Linked DNA regions of Homo sapiens: region 1 is linked to region 2. Evidence: promoter capture Hi-C in 16 types of primary human blood cells and fetal thymus (Javierre and others, 2016). All regions are on one chromosome and are shown on one strand. The core of a region is centred on a gene start or on the middle of the fragment in contact, and the rest is flanking DNA. Distances in the headings are between cores, read along the strand shown. Region 1 has its middle 19 kb from the start of SIX2. Region 2 holds the start of SRBD1 (S1 RNA binding domain 1).

Evidence for each region. Contacts are between HindIII fragments. The CHiCAGO score rates a contact against its expected background, and 5 or more counts as called.
Region 1: a fragment that was not itself captured here is called in contact with the fragment with the promoter of SRBD1 in region 2 in 1 of 17 cell types (neutrophils); the score reaches 6.8 in neutrophils.

The regions. Positions count from the first base shown.
Region 1 is chr2:44,987,043-44,993,192 of GRCh38, reverse strand. No RefSeq gene overlaps it. Among named protein-coding and RNA genes, the nearest start is that of SIX2, 19 kb to the left of the region's middle. The HindIII fragment of the contact is 2,887 bases long and covers 2,093-4,979 here.
Region 2 is chr2:45,607,090-45,613,533 of GRCh38, reverse strand. SRBD1 (S1 RNA binding domain 1) reads left to right here and starts at 2,267. Exons shown (of 21, transcript NM_018079.5): 1 at 2,267-2,315. RefSeq lists an enhancer at 2,447-2,616. The HindIII fragment of the contact is 4,677 bases long and covers 884-5,560 here.

The DNA of each region.
Region 1 (6,150 bases), core at 2,287-4,786, 620 kb after region 2:
TTGGGAATCTAGAAGGCCATGTGCATACCCAAGGTTGTGTGTGTGCCCAGGTAAGACCTGAGAAGGCTCTAATAGGGTTCTTATCTCTGGTTGACCTTGAGGCTGTGCACAAGCAGAATGTAAAGCAGTGTTGTAAAATTCCTAGCTGAGTGTTGAAGACATGCCCAACATACACACTTAGTCCTTCTGCAAAGACCGGGTGTTTTTGTTGTTGCCATTGTTCCAAGTGTTTAAGGAAATCTCTGTCTAATTAGCTGACTACTAAGCTAATGGAACAGAGATTTCAGTGGCCACATATGAAAAAGAATACAGAATTTACTAAATTAGTTTAGAAAAGTCACTAAGCAAACAGCAACAGTAGCAAATGCTAGAGACAGGGTAATATCTGATTTCCAGAGTTGCCACATAATATTGAAAATATACAGCTTTAATAAAAGATTACGAGGCATGCAAAGAAATAAGAAAAATTTCCCACATGCAGAAAAAAATGGAATCAATAGAAACTGACCCTGAAGAAGCCCATACATTGGACTTACTAGATAAGGACTTTGAGATCAGTTCAAAGAACTATAGGAAACTCTGTTTAAAGAACTAAAGGAGGCCAGGGACAGTGGCTCATGCCTGTAATCCCAGCACTTTGGAAGCATTGCTTGAACCCAGGAGTTTGAGACCAGTCTGGGCAACATAGTGAGGCCTCATCTCTATAAAAATAAACAAATGAATAAATAAAAAATGTTTAAAAGAAGAACTAAAGGAAAGCATGAGAATGATGTATCACCAAAATAGAAAATAGCAATAAAGAAATAGAAACTATAAAAAGGAACCAAATCGAAATTCTGGAGTTGAAAAGTACAGTAACTGAAAAATTTTACTAGAGGAATACAGCAGAAGATTTTATCTGGCAGACAAAGGAATGAGCAAACTTGAAGATAGGTCAGTTGAGATTATTTAGTCTAAGCAACAGAAAGAAAAAAGAATGAAGAAAAATGAACAGAACGTATGAGATCTGTGGGACATCATCAAGCATACCAACATAAGCATAATGATAGTCCCAGAAAGAGAGAAGAGAAAGAAAGGGACAGACAGAAAAGAACATTTGATAAAATAATGAACAAAAACTTCCCAAATTTGATGAAAAGCATAAATGTACATATCCAAGAAACTCAATGAATTCCAAGCAGGAAAACCCCAAAGAGATCCATGATGATACACATTATAATCAAAGTGTTGCAAGATAAAGAGAGAATCTTGAAAACATCAACAAAGAAGCAACTCATCATGTACAAGGGACCCTCAATCAGATTAGCAGCTGATTTCTGATCAGAAACCGTGGAAGCCAAAAGACAGTAGGATGACATATTCAAAGTGCTGAAAAAAAGAAAAATAAACACTTCTCAACTGAGATTCTACATCTGACAAAACCATCCTTCAGAAATGAAGGAGAAATTAGACATTCCCAGATAAAGTGAGTTTTGTTGTCTGACAATATTCTCAAGTGCTACGAAATGAGCCTCCAGTTTACACTGAATACTATTTTACAAAACCATGACTCTCCTACCAGGATGGGAAAAGGCCATGGTCCTCAGTTTGGTCATTGTCCTGAACTGCCAATTAGCAGTCACTAATCTTCACCCCCACCATTAGAGATGCCACTTTTGCCCCCACTCACCCCAAATAAAAACAAACCCAGGGCTAGATTCAGAGGGACTGGCCCCTAGCCTCCTTTTCCAGATGTCCTAAAGGGCAGTACAAGGGCCCTGGGGAAAAAAAAACATATAATCCACCTCTCAGTTTTTCAGTTGAGAAAGCTAAGGTTCAGAGAGATGAAGTGACTTTCCTGAACCTACCCAGGTGGCTGGTTGTCCTGGCTCCACAGGCATTGTTGACTCCTCCTTCCTCCACCCTCTATAATCATTTTTTAAATCAAGCTCAAATCTATATAGAAGAGATAATTTAGTCAGACATCTGTGAAATATCAGAAGAAAGAAAAAAGGAGATGGAGAGAAGAGAACATGAAGACAGAGAAGGAAAAAGCAGAATGAAGAGAAATGAAGAGACTGGACAAAAAAAGGAAAAGAGAAAAGAAAAAGCTTACAGGAAAAAGAAGACAGAAGAGGAATCAAGAGGTATAAGGTAAGAAGGAAAGGAAGATATAGGAGGAGTCAAAGTGAGGAGTCAGGAAGCTCAGGGATACCTGGATTTATCCATAATCAACTAACAGTTTTCCTAGAATGGGAGGTGCCACATTCCCATACCTCAGAGAAGTTGCAAAGCAATGTCATCTTCTTTTGCACCATGAAATATAGAAGTCAACATGAGAGGTAGAATCTCTTGGTGGCATAGGGTCTTGGCCCACAGAACCCTGGCCACATCCCTCTATACTTTCTTTTGCTGATTAACACTACCATGGTAGCTCCAAGGGCCAGTTCAGGGCTTGACACTGGCCCAGCAATAAACGCTATCTTTGTTTTGTTTTTTTGTTTTTGTTCCTGTTTTATTGAGACAGAGTCTTGCCTGGGCTGGAGCGCAGTGGCACCAGCACAGATCACTGCAGTTTCCACCTCCAGGGCTTGAACGGTCCTGCCATCTCAGCCTTCTAAGTAGCCACGACGACACGCACACATCACCATGCCCAGCTAATTTTTTGGTATGTTTTTGTAGAGATGAAGTTTTGCCATGTTGCCCAGGCTGGTTTCAAACTCAAGGTAATCCACCTGCCTTGGCCTCCCAAAGTGCTGGGATTACAGACATTGAGTCACCATGCCCAGCCTTACCCTTGTTCTTATAACACAGCTAAAATTTTGCCAGAACTTCAAAAAGGATTTTACTAAAAATGGTTCCTTCCAATATTTCCTGCTACCTTCTTGGTTCTGTGCCCACCTGGCTTCATCCTCCAATTTAGAGCCCTACAGCTGCCTCAGGCCACTAACCTGGTTTAGTTGCTCATCTGGACTTCTTCCCTTCCCTCTTGACAGTCCTTTGATTTCGGTAGAACCCAGAAATAAGATACCCTGGTAGGGTCACTTATACCAGATACCATTCCTTGACTCCCATCTCTTCCTAACAGCCCATAGATTTTCCTTTGGCTACTCATCTCTCCCCCTTGCATAGCAGCCATGTAGGTTTGGCTCATACTGACCCCAGCCCCAGCTTCAGGGGAGGATCCTGATTGTCTTAATACCAACAATATAACTCCACCCCTCTTGCCACAGTAATTGCTTAAAAGAATGGTCATGTAACCCAGGCCTAGATCAACATGGCAGTCTGCATGCAGTCATGATTGGTTTAGATTTGTTAAATCACAGAGAAGTGCAGAACTTAAGGACCTAAGTCCATTAAAGGAAGAGAAGATTGCTTTCTCTCTCTGTTTTGACTGAGTGATATGAGGTTTGTGATCTGGAACTGCTGCAGTCATTTTGCTACCAAGAGGGAAGATAGCCTGAGGGCAAGGCCACCCACACTGAGGACGGCTGACTTTTGAGAATTCTGGAGAAAGTAAGCCAGAGCCTTGATCCAATTATACTTGAAGGTTGCCCTACCTCTAGATATTTCATTTATGTGAACCAAAAACATTTTCCCATCATTGGATATTCTGTTTCTTGGGACCAAAAGCATCTTACTGACATCACATTCCACTGGCTTCAATCCTGTCAGAAATCACAGGCCCTTATCCCATATTTCCTTTCATCAAGGAAACCCAGGCTGACCTTCTGCAGAGTGCTAGGGGTGACGCTTCAAACAAATACCAACGGCAAACAGGGAATTTTATCCTAGAACAAGATCTCTTGAATTCTTAGCTCTGATGCCTCCCAGCCAGTTTCCTAAGACTGGAATCCTCCTAGGCAATGCTTCTGCCCCCATACCCATTATTTATAAATATCCTACCCACTTCTGGAATGTGCTATAGTCAGATAACATATGATGTGTAATGAGGGCATTGCTTACCAATGAGAACTTGGAAAATCCACATGTGGGATATTTAGTTTCTCAATAATTGAGCAGGGAGAATTACTTTATCTCCAAATCAGGAAAACAGGAGATCTTTGATGAGATAGAAAAAAAGTGACAGAAGCTGGGCACGGTGGTTCACGCCTGTAATCCCAGCACTTTGGGAGGCCGAGGTGAGTAGATCACTTGAGGTCAGGAGTTTGAGCCCAGCCTAGCCAACATGGTGAAACCCCATCTGTACTAAAAATACAAAAATCAGCTTGTGTGGTGGTGGGCACCTGTAATCCCAGCTACTCGTGAGGCTGAGACAGGAGAATTGCTTGAACCCAGGAGGTGGAGGTTGCAGTGAGCCAAGATCATGCCAATGGACTCCAGCCTGGGTGACAAGAGCAAAAGTCCATTTCAAAAAAACAAAAAAGAAAAGAAAAAATAAAAAAGTGATAGAGGCTCAGTTATCATAGTGTGCTCTAAGAAGCAATCAGTATTAGCAACATAGGGGTCTGTTTTGCTGCTGTATTCTGTGAAGCTGGCCTGGGAAGGGCTATCTTCCTGCATTTTCTATGCCAGAGTGATGACTGACAGCTGGAGCTAGAGGCTAAGAGGAGGAAGAATTAAGACTTTGAGGGAAAATCAGAGTGTGAAAAGATGGGGGTGAGTGGCAATGAGGAGGGAAGAAAATAAAAGATCAGAGAGAAGAAACTTCCTGATGCTCCTCTAAGGTGAATCCAGTATAGACCCATTAGGTGACCAAAGGTGATAGGGTTTGGATCTGTGGCTCTGCCCAAATCTCATGTTGAATTGTAATCCCCAGTGTTGGAGGTGGGGTCTGGTGGGAGGTGACTGGATCATGGGGGTGGATTTCTCATGAATGCTTTAGCACCATCTCCTTGGTGGTGTTCTCATGATACTGAATGAATGAGTTCTTATGAAATCTTGTTGTTTAAAAGTGTGTAGAACCCCCACCCCTCACTCCTGATCCTGCCATGTGAGACACCTTACTCCCACTTTGCCTTCTGCCATGATTAGAAGCTTCCTGGGGCCTCTTCAGAAGTGGAAGCCACTATACTTCCTGTGCAGCCTGCAGAACCGTGAGCCAATGAAACCTCTTGTCTCTATACATTACCCAGTCTCAGGTATTTCCTTATAGCACTGCAAAAATGGATTAATACACAAGGAGGTCCCCCCTTGTGTATTAAAATAAAATAAGCAATAATTTTCATATTTCTTAGTACTTTGTGTATGTGCTTGATAGGCTATTAGTATAATTTTCTTTCTGGCAATGATCTGCACCTTCCTACTTCATGCACTGCTATTAGTCTCCTTTATTTAGTCTCCACTTCTTTCCTGATAATAAAACTTGCAATTTGTAGCTGGGTACATGGTGCTCAAAATAAAACTACATTGTCCAGCCTCCCTTGCAGCTAGATGTACTATGTAACTAAGTTTCAGCTAATAAATATAATTGGAAGTGTTGTATGCAAATTTCTAGAAGTGTTCTTCAAGGAAGAAGATTCCTTTCTTCTCCATTCCTCCTTCCTGATGACAGGAATACGGATATGATGACTGGAGCTTGCACAGCCACCTTGGACCAAGAGGCAGTATGCTAAAGTTGGTGGAGCAGCCAGACAGGAGCCTGAAACTTACATGATTTTGAGTAGCTATCTAGCCCTAGACTTCTGACTCCAGACTTCATTTAAGTAAAAGAGAGATAAACTCTGATCTTATTTTAGTTATCAATTTCTTGGGTTTTCTGGCACATGTGCTTGCATCTAATTCTAACTTCAAAACTACCTTTCCATATTCAAAAAGCATAATCTTTCTCCTGGAACCCTACAGTCCTTTTATTTCTGTAATTTGCATTCATTCTCTTAATATTTCCTTGGGGTATAGTATTAAGTCTGACCATTCTTACTTCAAAAACGGACAGAAAAATTATATGACTCAGTTGAAAGTACAGCCTAAGGCAATGAATGGGCTTAGCCAAGAAGGTGCAGCGCCTCATTTCCCATTGCATGCTGTTCCCACCAGAGGGTATTATGGACAGGTAAGTTGCAATACAGCTAGGCACTGGATGCAGGAAGTGTTCAGCCACATAGATCCCTAGATGAATTTGTGTGGACTCAGGCGACTTCCAGAGATGTTCTCACTTTTAGTTCAGATTTTTATCAGGCTGCCTCTCTCAGGAAAAGCCCAGAAGTAGAA
Region 2 (6,444 bases), core at 1,018-3,517:
ACCAATCCCCTGTGGATAGACAGCAAATTGTATGTGGATACCTTTCAGAGTACTTGCTTTGGAGTAAAGCAGATTATTGGATTTGAATCTCAGATCTACAATTTATTAGCTGATGTGACCTTAGATGAATTATTTAACTTCTTTATACCTGGTATTCTCATTTATAAAAATGGTTTAATAGCAATATTGCATTGGGGTAATATGTGAATTATATACATAAATACATCTAAAAGCATTAACTTAGTGCCTGGCACAGGTAAGTAATCAATAAAGGTAAGTTATTACTATTATTATTACATTTGCCCTGGGGAGCTAGAACCCATAGGGGAAGGACTTGAAAACAGATAATAACATACAAATGATAATGTATCAGTGAATATCATGGGAAGAGCTATATACTTTGGAGGGATAAAACAACCTCCATCAAATCCAAAACATGTTTTCATTACTCCCAAACCCTATTGCATAGTCTCAGGTGGGTGTCCGGATTATTCCAGGCTTTCAGTCTAAACCCATGAATTTCTTGGAATTCAGCACTTGAGATCCAAAAGTAAACAATAGATTGGGCAATGTCCTAGACAGAAAAGGCAGTTTTTGTGGGAGGGCCTGTTTTATACTTAAGTGATTACAAATTTTCCTTGACAGCGTGTAGTGGGAGTGACTCTCTTATAGAATTCCAAGGGAAATATTCTCTGGACAGTCCTTATTGGCCTTTAGAGTAGGCCACTACCTACATACTTTAATTTTAGAGAACCTGCTTCAGATTTTATTTTCCCCAGATGTCTGATGTCTAAAATCTTAACAGGCTATTTATTTTTGTGATTTTTTTTTTCTTCCCCAGCTGTAAGGCAAAAATCCCTTGTGGGGAGAGGAAAGTCAAGCTTCAATGCTTTGCTGGCCCACTCTTACTCTCCTCCTCACTGTAGTGTGGCTACTACCTGCATACCCAACCCTTGAAGCTAGACTGTTTTGCTTGGGTGTCTGTTTCCTCTGGCTGTATCTGGTTCCTACTCTTGGTCGTAAATTCCTCCAGGGCAGGACTTATGTCAAAAGACTTTGCAGTATATTAGTTCACCTTTACCCTTACTACCTCTGCAATGATTGGAATGTCCCCTTCAAAAATTCAAGTTGAAACTTGTCATTGTAATAGTATGAAGAGGTGGGACCTTTAGGAAATGATTAGGTCATGAATGAGTTAATTCCATTATCACAGGAGGGTTAGTTATTTCGGGAGTCAATTGGGTTCACATGCCTCCCCCACCCCTACCCCAGTATGATGCCCTCCATCATATTTTGACACAACAATAATGCCCTCTGTCTTGGACTTCCCAGCCTTCAGAACTACAAGCCAAACAAATCTCTTTCTTTATAAATCTACCAGTCTATGGTATTTGGTTACAGCAGCAGAAAATTGACCAAGACAACCCCTTACCATAAACCTGAGTAGCAAATGCAACATCAAAAGTAGGTGAATAGTAAGTAGTACATTATTGTTGTTGATTTCTATGATCTGGTTTCTCTTCCCACAATCCTGAACGGTAAGGTGTTCTCTAGTATTTCTTCAGGACCATAAATTGTGAAGGAGACTGTGATTGTAGTAGACAATTCTAGGCCTTCTGGAACCATCACTAAAGGCAACATACGACTGTGCTAATTAAAAGGAAAAAAAAATCCCTAAACAATCTCGGAAACTGATCTTTCCTGGCCAACAATCTCAGATATAGAAGATTAGATTTACTAAATTTAGAAAGAATCCTTTTTTTTTTCCCCCAATCACAAAAATTATCCAGTAAAATCTATGCTCACTTCCGGTAGATCTGCAACAAGGCACGGTCACAGGTCATTTCAATAACTTGCTAGGCTCTTCAGTACTCAGAGTCCCTGGAAATAAGTCATTAGCAGTGGAAAGCTGCTTTTTAGAATTTTCTAAAACAAATCCATGGGGTTTTGATCTGCTAAATTCGAATGTAGACAACAGCAGCCTTATTTCCCTACTTTTATAATCTAATTTATTTGGCTGTATCTGTGGGCTTAAGAGTTTAGTGTTCTTGGTAAATAACACGTAAAAAAAAAGTCATTTTTCATTTCTACGAACCAGCCCCACCCCGGCGCTCCCTCGGGATCCTCGCTCTAGCCCCGCCTCCGTCCAGCCTGGCTCCGCCCCGTTCGGTAGCGCCGCGCCTTGGAGGTCTGTGGCTAACTTGGTCCGGAAGAAGCGAGGCGGACCTTCTGGCGTTTGAAAAACTTCCGGCGGGAACCGGAAGGTGCGGTGGCACTCACGGAATCTCGGGTCTTCTGACGTGCCGGGCGGGAAGGTGAGCTGTGCGTGCGCCTTGGCGGTCGTCTTGCGGGTTCTCAAGAGCCCGGCGTCCGGGCTCCGGGATCTTTGGGGCCATTAAAAAAGTTCTGAGCGCTCATTTGGGCAATAACACCCCTTTTTTAAAAGTGAGAAGTTCATTACATTTTACTGTCAGCGGTCTCTCACAACCGACCACCCGAAAACCCCTCCTAGCTACCTCGTGACACCTCTTTTCAGCCAAATTGCTGCAGCTCTTAGCGCATAACAGACATAGAAAAGCCTGGGCAAGCCTGTTTTTTTTTTTTTTGAGACGGAGTCTCCCTCTGTCGCCCAGGCTGGAGTGTAGTGGAGCGATCTCGGCTCACTGCAAGCTCCGCCTCCCGGATTCACGCCATTCGCCTGCCTCAGCCTCCCGAGTAGCTGGGGCTACAGGCGCCCGTCATCACACCCGGCTAATTTACCTGGATTGTTTTTATACCTAAAATTATCGGAGGTGGGAGAGGAAGCACCCTTTTCACGGTCATGGTGGCCCTGTCTGAATCAACTGCACCTTCTGTAGTGCGCCTGGCATGTAGGAGGCGCTCAGTAACCGGAGGAAAGGAATGAATTGGGAACTCTCTAGGCAACTTTCCTCGAACCCCTCACGTGACATGTCATTAACATATTGTGTGTGGAATGGGAAACGAGACTAGTCTTGGTGTTCCAGGCACTGGGCTATAGTCCTTTGCCACATATCTTTCCCCTTTGAGTAAACTGTTTCACCTCATTGGGTCTCAGATTTCTGAATATAGCGGGACTGTCTGATCTCAGGTTCTTTCAGCTCTAGTATTTTGTTTTTGTGACTTGGGAATCTGCTAACATTCAAGCACTCTGTTGGTCCTTCATGGAAACTTGTTTAGGTGCTTCTTAAGAAATTGTCCTCCTTTGTTTGCCTTCTTGAATTTAAATTTTTTTTTCCAATTTTAATTTAGTATTTGTTAGTGTGCACGTCCTTTTGCCCCTTTGTCCTGATTTGCAGTCGTCCTAGTTTAGTGGCTCTTCCCTTAGTAACATCATAGCAACCTCCAAATTATTGGTTTGGAATATGCTCATGTGCCTACAGTGATTAAGATAGTTTGAAAGGAGGGAAAAATCCCAAGTCACTGAAGAATAGGAATATTCTTATGTGCCATCACTTCTTCAGAAAGAGATGAATGCAATGTGTGGCATTGCCTAAGAGTGGTGGAAAATAAATGTATATTCCTCTGTAGAGACCATATTTGTACATATTATGTTCATTTAATAGTTGTAGGGCATCTGTTAAGTGCTAGGTTCTATGATATGGAAGTGAATAAGGCACATGCATTTCCTTCTTTCATGGTATTTACTCTCTTGACAGCAGTGCAAGCAATAAACAAGTAAAATAAAAATAATTACAGATTGTGTTATAACCTACTGTATACAGGAAGTAAATAGGCTCCTTTTAAAATATAATTGAGAAACCTATTTTAGGCCTGAAATGTTAAGATCTAAGGGATGCAAGGAGCCAGCCAATTGACAAGCAGGGGGAAGAATACTCCAGGCAGAGAGTACCTGAGGTGGGAAAGAATGTTATGACAAGAGCTGAGGAGCTCCAGCAAGTAGTAAAGGTGGTTAGAAAGGTGAGCAGGGCTCAGTCCGACAGGGCCTTTTCAAAGGCCTCATAAAAATGTGGCTTGATTCTAAGTGAAGGATGGGGTGGGAAGTAATTCGTTGTTTCTAAAGCATATTCTAAATGATCTTGAGTTGATAAGTGGAGAATGAGTTGCAGGGGCAAGAGTGGAAGTAGGGAGGGCAGTTAAGAGGCGAGTGTGGTAGTTCAAGTGAGGGAGGTTGAGGACTAAAGGCTCACTGAAGATCGTGGAGATTCAAGACATTTTGGAGGAGGATCTTATGTGACTTACTAATAGTCTGGATATGTGAGATGAAAGAAAAAAAGATTTGTAACATTTTGACTTAGCAAATGGAACTTTGGAGGATGATAATGTGTTCATTTTCTTGATTGTAGTGATATGTATACATATGTCAAAACATCAAATTTGCACACTTTAAACATGTGCAGTGTATTGCATGTCAATTATATGTCAATGAAGCTGTTAAAGAATTTTCTGGCCAGGCGCCATGGCTCACACTTGTAATCCCAGCACTTTGGGAGGCCGAGGCAGGCAGATCACCTGAGGCCAGGAGTTCGAGACCAGCCTGGCCAACGTGACGAACCCCGTCTCTATCAAAAATAGAAAAATTAGCTGGGTGTGGTGGTACACGCCTGTAATCCCAGTTACTTAGGAGGCTAAGGCAGGAGAATTGCTTGAACCTGGGAGGCAGAGTTTGCAGTGAGCTGAGATCACTCCAGGCTGGGTGACAGAGTGAGACCGTCTCAAAAAAAAAAAAAAATTTTTTTTTTCAAGGTTCTGGCTTAGCAAATAGGTGGGTGCCACTTATTGAGATGGGAAGGACTGGAATAGGAACAGGTTTTAGAGCAAGAAATGGTCATCAAGAGTTCCATTGTGGATGTGTTAAGTTAACTGTGAGACATCTAAATAGTTTCAGAGACAGGCAGTTTATTATAGAAATCTGAATGTTAAAGGCACGGTTTGGGATGGAGGGATTAGGATTGTTAATAAGTAGGTGACATCGGTATGTAAAACCGTGGAGATGGATGAGGTTTTGGTTAATCTAACAAGTTTTATGACACAAAGTAAGAGGATATGGGAGTAGTGGAGATGGAGAAACAGGCCTCAAGAATATTGGTGTTTAAACTGGAGAATACATACTCCTGGGGGTGTACCTGTCGTAGGTAGTTTTAAAGACATAATTTCCAAGTCTTCAGCTTTTGTATATATTCTTTCTAAATCTGATCTGCTTGAAATTGGCTTGTGTGTTCATGCAGATTCTGCTTTCCCACCTTTCCTTTTACATTGATATTTTTAACATTTGTGAAAAGAAATATTACAACTCACTCATCTTTCCATGGTATATTGCTTTCGGGGTGCCTTATAAAGAGGCAGTTGGAAATATTTGATTTAGGGGAGCCTTCTTTAAGGATAATGGTTAAGCAAAAACATAAGCCTGCCAAGGGTTTGCCTGTCCCTATTTTAAACACATTTCTGTTAAGGCTGAAGTGTGGAGATAGAATTAGTATATGGTAGTCTGTGTGGGAATGTTCTGAATTCAGGCATATTGTAGAATGTGGTGGTAGGAGTGATTGTAAGGTGATCTGGGTGGGTTGTTTGATGGGAAGCTTAGCACCTTCAAGTTTTTACTCTTGGACTGGTTAGATTCTCCAGAGAAAAGCCTTCCCATTCTCCTCCCTAGAGGGCAGTATTTTAGGAATTTAGTGGCGGAAGACTAGGGTTCTCTGCCTTTAGCATTCAGTCTGTATGGTTCCCATGCCCACAGTCTAGACTGTTTCATTAATACCTTCTCCAGAGAATAAACTTACAGTCTTTTTCCTGGGGCAGTTGCCTAATAGCATGAAGTGAGGTAGGACACTTAGAGATATTCCTTTGTCAGTTTATACACAGCCCTAACCCGTTTCACCTTTAATTCCAAAGGTATCAGCTACTGCTTCATATGAATTTTTTTTTTTTAGAATACTGCAGGGTAAATTGGTTTGGTTCTCATATGCTCCCACTACTGGCTTGGGATTTTAATTTTTATGTGTTGCAATTTGTTAGTCTTTTTGGTTTTGGAATTTTGAGGAGTCATATTTAGGAAAACCTCCATTTCCCCATCTCCCCTCAATAGTGTGAAAAGAATCACCTTTATTTCTTAGTTCTTTTATAGTTTTAATTTGTACATTTTAAACTATTAGTTATTGGGGAATAAATTTTTGTTAATGGTGTGGAGGTAGGAATTAAACTCCTTTTTTTCTTCTAGAGGAATAGCTAGTTGTCTCAATACCATTTATTGAATAATCCATTTTTACCCTGCCCTGATTTTAAATGCCACCCTTGTCATACACTAACTTCCTCCATTCTTATTTTGTTGTGGTAAGATACACATAATATAAAAATCACAATTACCTGTTCTTTCATGATCAATGTCTAAAAAATACTAATTTGAGAAAGGATGATCTTTATAACCTAATATGCCAAAAAGAGAGTGAAGGGAAAGATGGAAGATTA